Regions from separate parts of the Homo sapiens genome. Here region 2 is linked to region 1. Evidence: promoter capture Hi-C in 16 types of primary human blood cells and fetal thymus (Javierre and others, 2016). All regions are on one chromosome and are shown on one strand. Each heading gives the region's core, a stretch centred on a gene start or on the middle of the fragment in contact. The rest is flanking DNA. Distances are from core to core; before and after follow the strand shown.

What was found. Contacts are between HindIII fragments. The CHiCAGO score rates a contact against its expected background, and 5 or more counts as called.
Region 2: a fragment that was not itself captured here is called in contact with the fragment with the promoter of DPYD-AS2 in region 1 in 1 of 17 cell types (M1 macrophages); the score reaches 5.1 in M1 macrophages.

The regions. Positions count from the first base shown.
Region 1 is chr1:97,794,164-97,799,625 of GRCh38, forward strand. DPYD-AS2 (DPYD antisense RNA 2) reads left to right here and starts at 2,758. Exons shown (of 3, transcript NR_046591.1): 1 at 2,758-2,909; 2 at 3,052-3,132; 3 at 3,305-3,888. The region is part of intron 3 of DPYD (dihydropyrimidine dehydrogenase); the gene reads right to left. The HindIII fragment of the contact is 2,382 bases long and covers 405-2,786 here.
Region 2 is chr1:98,050,746-98,056,207 of GRCh38, forward strand. LOC124900404 (a long non-coding RNA gene) reads left to right here and starts at 3,634. Exons shown (of 2, transcript XR_007066241.1): 1 at 3,634-3,758. RefSeq lists a silencer at 3,476-3,735. The HindIII fragment of the contact is 2,886 bases long and covers 1,693-4,578 here.

The DNA.
Region 1 (5,462 bases), core at 1,508-4,007:
CTGGGCTCAAGCAATCCATCAACCTCAGCCTTCCCAAATTTTGGGATTACAGGCATAAGCCACCAGGCAAGGCCAAAAGACATTCTTAAGAGAATGAAAAGACAACCCACATACTAGGAGGAAATATTTTCAAGGCACATATCTGATAAGAACTTGAATCCATAATATTGTTTAAACTCTCAAAAATAAATAATAACAGAAACAAGCCGACCAAAAAAAATAAACAAATGTCCTAAACAGACACATTACCAAATAAGACATACAGATGGCATAAAACACATGAAAAGATATTCAGCATCATTCACCATTATAGAAAAGCAAATTAAAAACGTTAAAGACTGATCATAGATGTTTACAGTTAACATATATTACTTCCGTTTTGTTTTTAAATCTCTATTTTAAAAAGCTTGTTTGACCTGGATTCCATTCACCTAAGGGTACATATTATCAACATGACTTACTACCATTGATATCAATCTTGATTGCCTGGCTAGTTAGTATTTTTCAGGCTTCTCTTCTGTAAAGTTACTCTTTTCCAACTCTTTACATATTATACTTTTCGGAAAAAAGTCACCACGCTTATTTCACACTTAAAAAGTGGGAAGCCATGCTTCACTTATTTCAGGGCAGGGTACATAGATTTTTAGTACACATATCTTTCACATCTTTCACAAGTCAGATTTATCCCTAGTACTGTATAATTTTTATGCTATCTTAAATGGTATTGCTTTAAGTTTTAATTTTTAATTGTTTGTTGTTAGTGATTAGAATATATTTGATTTTTGTATATCAATCTTGCAATATACCTAATCTTGTTTGTTCTAGTATCTTTTTGTAGATCACATTAGATTTTCTTTGTAGAGAACAAATAAGAGTAGGAAATAAAAATAATTTTACTTATTTCCAAAATAATAATAATGTGAGAAAGCAGTCTTAACTAATGGGATGAGCACAGAGTCCAGTTAAAGTCATACTTCTTTATGTAAAGTTACCAGTGTTGGGTAACTTCAAAATGGGTGGCAGAAAAATTTACATGAGAAAATAATTATTTTTAATTTCCTACCCTCTCTAAAAAGACATTTAGCAATGGGAGGCAGTTTACTACATATTCACCATATTTAATTCATTCATTCAACAAATATGCCTAGCTACAAATTTCATCAAATTATTTTATTCTATCATGTATCAATTTTCTAACTGCTAAAAGTGTATAATTTATAGTGTTAGAATGATAAATAAATACATAATTAACTACTCAACATTTAGTAACTGATACTAACTGTTAGCTATATGCTGATCTTGCTAACAGAATACATAAAATACGTTTTAAAAGCAAAATAACATAGAATGGAGACTAAAGATCATAATGCACATTGACGCAATTAAAAACAAACATTCCTACATAAACTCATTTCTATAATTTTACCTTTGTCTTAGCAACTTCACTTTTTGACATAGTGAACAACTCATATTTCACATGTACTCACCATTGTAGCTTTTTAAAAAATAATGGACATACTATACACACTCCTATATTATTTTATATTTCAATGCTGAAATTTTAATTAACATATACATATACTCAATAAAAACAATAAAAAATATGACTCATTCTCTGGAAAATTTCATTATTAAAATTACTGTTATTTTATAATGATAACATCTCATTTTGTTGTGCCCTAGGTATAATGAAACACTCTTTTTATTATAATAAAATGCAATAAAAAGTGTTCTTCCCTGTGTTACTGCTGTTATTTTGAATTATCCTTATAAATTTTCTGATAATGAGGGTAGGCTATCATCAAAAGATGCCTCCATTAAAATATAACAATGATGGTAATAGCTTAAAACTTGTATTGTACAGCTGAAAATTCATTTGTACACATATCTCTTTTCATCCACATACCAATTCTGTTAGGTGAATATACTTAACCCCATTTTACAGATGTATCCCCATTTATATGACAATGATCATAATAGCTTAAAACTTTTATTGTACAGTTTAAAATTCACTTTCACACATATCTCTTTTAATCCACATACCAATTCTGTTAGGTAGGCATTATTATTATCCCAATTTTATAGATGTAAGTACTAAAAAGCTAAGTTGTTTTCCTTGTCCTAAGCAACACAGCTAATTAGGGAAGTTAATTTTTCTCCACTGCTTTTAATCACATTAAACTGATCCTTCTATTCAACACATGAAGTTAACATTCTATGAAAATAAAACTGGAATCTCTGAGTCTACATTGATCACAAATTGAATGTATCCTCTCAATACACTGTTTTAGTCCTTTATATCTTTGATAGAAGTGAACATCCTAATTATGCCCATGAGTTACATATATGAGATGCCTTCACCCCACTTCAATAAAACTCTTTCTTAATGCCAATATAAAAAATACTCTACATTAATTGGTAATTGTGAAAAGAGACTCAGGGAGAGAGTCTGAATCAACAAAAGAGGAAAATATAGGAAGGAAAGGGAAAGACAAAGAAGGAGGGTGAGACAGAGAAGAGAGAACAAACATCCAGGAGTAGTGATGTGAATTATTTGCTTAGTTACCACAAAAGTAATAATTACACTAACTCTGTGGGAACAATGGTAATTTCACAGTAGCTCACGTTACTGTTATCACCTTATATCCTGATAACTGTGAAATTAATTTGTGGCACTACTGTATGTGTCGGCCATAAGCTGTTCCCTTGGTAACAGTATTATGCTACCATAGAGAAGGAATGTTTGGCAGTAAAATGGGCAGCAGCAAGCTGATTACACAGGGAAAAGCTTCTATCTAAATACACATAGCATAACAATCACCCCTGGAAAAACTACATGGCTTACCAAAAGAGGTCTCTCTGTTCACTGTCCATTATCTGTTGACTGAACTAGTTCAAATGAATAACAAGTAATGATCAAATTGCCAGTTTATATTTTACAACAGAGTCTTATCTTTAAAAAAATGCAAGGAGGAAATACAAAAATGTAATACATTTATCTTGCTTTCTTTTCTATTTCCTCCCCTGAAATTATTACTATGCTATTGGAAGCCATACAAACACATATATACACAAATATACATATGCTTCAATGAAAAGCAGGCATGCAGCTGACAGCTCGGCAACCCTGAGGTATAAACAAAGATACCAGACATATTTTTTGAAATAATTTTGCTCAAGGAAATTCATTTCAGTAGGAAGATCAGTTACTCTGCTGTCTCCTACCTACAAAGTTACAGAAGGAAAAGTTCAACATTTGGCCAAAAGGATAGTAGCTTACATTTCTTTTTTTTCCTTTTTTCAGCACAGAATTTTGAAGAGAGAATACACTAAAAGGGAAGAACATAACTACATGACATCATAAGAAGTCCTGAATTAGAAGCGTATATTTGAAAGGTCATGCATCCTGAGCTGCCAACAGCTTAACAACCAGAGGCAGAGGCCAGCTTTGCCAGCTCACTGCTTCTACTCATCTTTCATGATAGTAGCCAGGCTGAATATAGTTCCAGGATGATAATGAATTGGCTGGGCATACTGTTTATATTAGTATGTATGTTCCTGTACTAAACCAAGCATCATGAGGCCAGCACTATTTTGCCATTTTTCAGAAAAAAAATATGAACCCTTCAAAACATAGTAAGCCTTTTTTAAAGTATATATTTGATTTTGAAATAATCAAAATATATGTAGGGATATGACTGCATCCTAAGATTTATGATAAGTTCTGATGAGTAATATTTTCTTTCTACATGCAAGGCAAAGTTAATAGTAACTAGAAAGTCTTTATTTGGCATATCATAGATTTCTGTCAACCAAAACAACTAACTCTGGGGAACATAACGTTCTGACAACTTCAGAAGAGTTAAGTCACAGACAAAAGTTTATTGGATCTTAGTTGGCTCCTACCCACCAATTCTTTCTTTTCCAAGTGGAACATAATAGATTTTCAATATTTGTTAAATAATTGAAAAAATATCCTCAAAATTCTTTTTTGGCCATCTTCCCAACAAGAATATGGTCCTAACCTATATGTAGAGTCCTTTGCTGTGTCATCTATTTCTTCAGAATTATTCTCCTAATTCATATGTCTGGATAGTCTCTCTGAATTGTTATAGAAAATTAAAAATGTGAACTATGAAATTAATTTTTAAACTTTTATAACCATCTAGTCATACACAGAATAACCACAAATATAAACATGGTTTCAAAGAATTCCCTGTGACAATCAAGCAAATAGTGAAATAGTTTCTGCTATTATGAATTTATCACTTACTCAGTGTATGACCATGGGCAAATATCTTCACCTCAATCCTGTGAGGCAGGTACTATTATTCTACCCATTTTAAGTATAGATTTGCAATATTTGTTAAATATTCAATATTTGTTATTATAAAATGAGTATACTAATAGTACCTACCTCACAGTATTGAGGTGAAGATATTTGTCCATGTACGTACAATATGGGCATAATAATAGTACCTACCTCACAGGATTGTTATTAAGAATAAATAAGATAATCCATACAAAGTATTTAACACATTATTGAAAAATTAAATGATCAAAATAAAGCTTGTTGTTATTGTTATCTTTTAATAAATGCATCTAAAGTATTTTTAAATGTATTCACTTCAGTTATTTAAAGTTTCATCTGCTGTATCACAGAGCACATATATGTTCAGAAACATTTGTTAAGTATCTATGTACCAGATAATAAAGGTGGTATTGAAAAAAGAATAGGCATTGTAACAGGCAGACAGGAGTATAAAGTCCAGCCTTGCCACTTATGAGACTCCCATCTTCAAATTATGGAACCTTTCTGAATCTCCATTTTATACCTATAAAAAGGGGTAGACATTACGTCTCTACTTGCTTCTTATCATTAAATTAAAATTCATATTCCTTTCTATGGCAAGGAAACGAGTCCTGTATAGTCTTGTAATTCATCTCCCTCCACCAAACTTCATCCACACTGACTTCTTTAGGCCAAGCTTGTTCCTATATCAAGGTGAGCCTGGAAGCCTGTACACTGTTCCACAGTGGTACACCTCCTCTAGCCCTATAGAATGCAAAATGGAAGCACAGAGACATTATACAATGGTTAGCCAGTCACATTACATCAAGTAAAAACAACAAGTTACCATGAAGTTTATTTATTGGAGTGGCTTCAGTATTTCTTGAGAAACACAAATGATGACCCTGATTTGTATGATCAATCAGCAAGTTTTCAAAAAGGTTACTGAGTATATGACAGTAATTTCTAGAGCCAAAGATATACCCGCATGAATAAGCTTTCATCCTGAAAAAAAAATCACCTTCTGAAACTCCATGCTAGTTATCTGAAATAATAAAGGTGAAGTACAAATTATGTGATCTATCATAACCTGAAATAAACATATGTTGCTACTCTGTGATTTGGTCTTTATCCCAGTCTGACCCATTTCTTGAGACTGTTACCTCAAGAT
Region 2 (5,462 bases), core at 1,886-4,385, 260 kb after region 1:
ATACATGGAAAGAAGACATATTGCAAACAATGGGATGACTGCCCCCCACCCATTTATAGTTATAGGTTTAAAAAATATTGAAATAGGGTTTATTATCTAGATATGTGACTATCTTTTATTAAATATATCTCAAAATTCCATATTTCCTCTGATTTTTGTCATCCATTTGAACACTGAAAACTATGGTCACTTTGATTCTGCTGTCTTTTCTTTGGTAACATACATTACATAAATTCTGTAGTAAACAATTAGTGTTCAGGAAAATTCTAAAGATGAATGTGTCTCCTAAAACTTTGATAATCTCTTTAAGGAAAAAAAAACCTAACAGTTATGAATTAAATTAGTCTAAAAATATAGCTTGAAGACAAATCAAACAATTTACCTGATCTTTTGTTTCAATATACATTAATTAAGCACTCTTTCCAACCTACACAACATTCCAGGGTCATAGTCAGATATTCAAGTCTAATAGTTCAGCAGCCTTTGTTGTCATTCGTGTCAAGCTATTGCCCCCTGCAGGTTAGGCTGAAAGTGCAGGCAGAATTTGGCCAAGTCCTCAGGAAATTGATGGTACACAAGTTACTCAGTCTCTCCCAATATTTAACTAGAGTCAACTTTTTAAGTTTGCTTTCATTATGGTTTAAACTATTTATTTACAGATAGGTAGTACATTAAGAAAAATGCTCTTTAAAGATGTGACTTCAGTTTTTCTTCTGAGAATTTAGCTGCATTGAGTAAACCATCCACTTTGTTGTGATACAAGGAGCATTTTGACACATTTAGTATAGTTTTCTTCATCTTCCCTTATCCTTATTCCATAAGATCCAGCAAAATTAAAAAAAAAACATATGTAACAGGATTGGAATTATGAATTCTCATAATAAATATATAGCCCTGGGCAATTTGATATCAGTATGCTTTTGGTAGACTCAATGAAGTGTGTGCAAATCAAACCATTTCAGATTCTCCCTGCTCCTGATATGATGAGGTCAATTACACCATTTATCTTGATTATAAAATTAAACATTATTTCAACCTCCATATTCCTGCTATACTATCATCCTTTCCCACAATCAACTTTTCCAAATAGGGCACCTTGCCAAGATGAAATAAATTTATAATTGACAGAATAGAAATTAAATTACATCAACTCTTTCACAATATTAGAAAGTGGAGCAAGTTTATAGAAACGACTTCAGAAGGTTTATGGAAAGATTCTTTTATTCTTTGGAAGTCAACGATGTGGCTATTCACACTGAGTTGTAAAGAAACCAGCAATGGTATTTCCCTATTACATAAATATTCATCTCATTGAGCAGTGGGATATCATTATGTGAAATATAATCAATTCTAACACCAAATTAGCAATCAATAAGAATCTTACCTAGTCAAATTATAGTATTATTTCAACATTGTATGAAAGTAGCTAGAAACATGAACCGCACTTTGTTTTTTTAAAGCTATTATGAAATGCTCAATAAAGACTTAAAGTTTACTGGCAAAACTTGGGTCTTTTTTGGAGGATTTTTTGTTACCCTAACTACTGATATGTTTTCTGGATCCTCCAGAATGGACATATGGGATAGGAACTGAGGATAACTGTGTCATATTTTAAACAATATTAAAAACACAACAAGCCAACACAAACTAAAAATAACCTGAATACTTATCTCTGTTTTATTACATTTTCAAAGCTTGTTAAATTTCAAGAGGACACTACATCTATACATTAAGAGCTTTGCATCTACAGTTCATTAACACTCCTGCTCCAAGTAAAGAGGGGATTTGGACTAGGTTGTGAGACTATTAATTGCACAAATATGTTGTAGTCAGAGCAGTGACTGGTTGCCTGCAGCAGCCATTTCTAGTTGTCTTTGAGTATGCGTCTTTTTTTTAAAAAAGTCATCTCCTCTTCAAAGTCATATCTCACATATATATGATTATACTTGATTGTGTGTACTGAAGCACATTGCTATTGAGTCAGAAATTTTCAAGTATCTTGATTCAAATGACTGTCAAATACCTAAGAACAGAGTTGCTTTTAATTAGCATGCAGAAAAGAGAGATGATATTTGACCTGTGAGTCTTAATCAAGGGGAATATTTTTAAGTTCTCCCATAAACGATGTAGCAGATTGCTTGCAAGTGCCTTGAAAAACATAGTCCTACTTCTCCTCCTACTATCATTACTATTGTTCTAACAATTTCTAAAGGATCAGAACAGAGTTCTAGAAACCCTGTAATGCTGTTATTGCCCGGAATCCTGGGTTATTAAACATTCTTATCCGCAGAAGCAAAGGACCATCCAATCCTATTCATATGCATCCTATGACTCAACTCAGTTTCCACTTGGCGGGCTGTGTGTGTGTGTGTGTGTGTGTGTGTGTGTGTGTGAGAGAGAGAGAGAGAGAGAGAGACAGTGAGAGAGAGAGAGAGTGAGAGAGAGAGAGAGAGTTCATCCTGAAAGCGCTTATGTTTCCAGAGGTTTTCAAATGCAAATGGAGTGGGAGTGGTGGTGGCCGTGATGGAGCGTACTGTGTGGGTGTAGGGGGATTTGGGGAGAGGGTGTCGTGGGCAGTAAGTTTAAACAAATTCAAGGCCATTACTACCACTGCAGACCAAAATAACTTAGGTCTGAGAGACCCCCTTAGAAAGATACAATGCCTTCCTCATCTAAAGGGAGCTAATACCAGAGTGATCTCGGCGCTCGCGCAGTTTTGAGAGAGGGTCCCGAAAACCGCCGGAGGCCAGGTGTCGCGGACGGGCCCCGGGCTAAACTCTCGTCTGGCGAAGTGAAGAGCGCAAAGTCTCCAGGCCCAGCGCGCCTTCGCGGGGCAGGCCGGACACCCTAGCCCCGGGCCGGGCTCGCTCTTCTCTGAAGCCCTGGAGCGGGCAAGGGGCACCATTCTGGCCACAGGAACTCTAGTTTCAGCAGCCGCAGCCCGCCAGCGCTGGCTCGGACCGGGGCCTCCTCTGGGAGAGTAGGAGAGCGAAAAAATCAACCACCACCTTGGATTTCAGATCGAGGAAAGGAAGCCAAAGCAAAGGTGTGGTTACACAGGACATCCATAGACAAATCGTTGCCTCTCTAAGTGGGCCTGAGCTTTGCGGCTCCAGAAGCGCGAGGCGCGGTTGGTGCGGACGCGGGGGCGTGGGAGTCATCGCTCTCCCCGCAGCCCTGGCCGAGCTCTCTGCTGTCCTCCCGAGTTTGGGCCAGAGACCACGGCTCACTCCCTAACGCCCTCGCAAGGACGGCTGCCCGTCGGGCCAAGGGCGCCCCGGGCTGGAGGCCGGAGCAAGACGGCCCCGCGGGACTCGGGAGCCTTGGTAAGGCGGAGGCTCAGACCCCGTTCACGAAAACGCCTGGCTCCTCCAGGATTTGTCAGGTCTTAAGCAGCTCCGAGAAGGCTCCGCTGGCTCTTGGGGAACCCCGCTGTGCGGCTCACCCCCGTTTGTCTCTCTCAAGCTCTCGCCCTCCTCCCCTGGTCCTCCCTTCTCCAGATCCCCTGCCCTGCCCGAGGTCCGGGCCGCGCGGGCTGAGCCCAATACGCCCGGAGAAGAGCGCCGGAGCCCCCTGCTGGCCGGACGCGGCAGGCGCGGCGGCCCGCTCGGTCCCCTCCGCCCCGCGGGCTCTGCCCAGCCCGGACCCGCCTCCACCCTCCAGTGCCCTGGCGCTGGGGGCGTGCTAAAAGCAACAGAAAACAAAACAAAAACAAACAAAGCGCCAAACCCCACTCTCACCTCTTCTACTGGTCAAAGGTAAGTGTGAGTTCAGCCTCTCCCTCGTGCGTCTCTGACCCTTCTCTGGTTCTCTGGGCTGAGGTCTGAAGGAGCCAAAAGGGGCCCCCCTGAAAAAGAAATTATGGCCGCTTTTTAGAATATGTTTTCCAAGCATCAAAATCTCTCTCTCTCTCTCTCTCACACACACACATATATATACACACACACACGCACACACTTCAAACCCACACTTGCCAGTCTGGAAGAGCACTACCGATGTGCATGTTTCTGGAAGCATTTCCTTAGCTATTGGAGGAAATGTTTACTAATATTTCAGGTTGTAGACACCAATAATTATTCTGTGAATTGGGGAGAGGGAGGGTAAAGGAAGACAGATTCCTCTTAATTTAACCCTTCCTCCCGTATCTGAGTGTGAATCCTACTTTCAGTCCCAAGTCCTAGCATGGGCCGAAAAGTTTTCATTCTTATACTGAGGAGGAGAGAGAGAGAGTTATCCATTTCTGCGAGGTTTCCTGTGTTCCCACCCCTCACTATGGAACTGGGGAAGTGATTGTTTTGTTTATCTAGACAATTCATGACTTAGTTTTGTATGGCGTTTTGAAACTAGTTTAACCTTGAAATAGGCTATATGCTTTGAGTGGTACAGTGAAATAGGCTGTGTGCTTCTCTGTTCTCAGGAAAAGGTTGTTAGAAATCACAATGTTTCTTTCTATTCAGGCAGCCTTGAGTTAGAGATGGGCATAGTATGCTATGATTATTGTGACTTTTAGTAAAGTCTGTTGCCTCTGGATGTTTACTGTCTTTGGAGAATGATAGTTTTTTAAGAAAAAAATTCAAAAGCTTAGGCAAAAAATAAGTATAGATAGGTCTAGTAAGTGATCAGTACTATTAATATTTGCTTCTACTTTCTTCACACACTCTTCTGGGGAAAGAAGCCAAAGGACTTTTTTTTTACTGTCCCCGGAATTAGTTTGTTCTATCTAGGCAGGATCCACGAGACAATCTTTTAAAATGGCGTCTGTTTTCTTATTTGGTATTTTCAGGTGGATGGCAGAATCTTTGAACTGCTAATAAGTAAGGGGATGGGGCTGAAATGAAGAGGGATCTGGTATCTTTCCTCTGTGTTCATCAATCCAGGAGATCTGAACAGGTCGTAAAGAGTTGCAGCTCCTCCTGAGGATAAAATCGCAATTATAACAATAAAAACTAACATGTGTTGAGTGCTTATTCGTTGCCAGGTGCTGTGTTGCAACCTTTATCGTCATTTTCTCATTTAATTTCCACTGCAATCCTGTGGATTAGGTACTACGATAGTTTCTCATTTTACAGAGAAGGAAAGTAAGGATTGGGAAGATTTATTTACTTGACCAAGGTTATAACAGTTGGTAAGCAGAAGAGCAAGGATCTGAAAGCAGGCAGTAAAAGAGATATCTTGAGAACTCAGGTTTATTGTATTGGATTCAGACTGGTAGTAACTAAGCTAATATTTCAGGTCTCAGTCTTGTTTTTCATAAAGAAAAGAAGAAAATATTTTCTTTTCCTGAAATGAAAGCATTTGATCAAAGGGAGATATTTGCTTTTTAAAATGTTTGTTATGAACTCCCTACCCCCATTTCGCAGATGAGAAAACTGAGAGAATGAATCCATTTAGCTACCATAGCAAAGTGCATAGCCAGGCCTTAAAACCAGAGTTGCAGATCCAGGTTCTATATCCATTCCAGT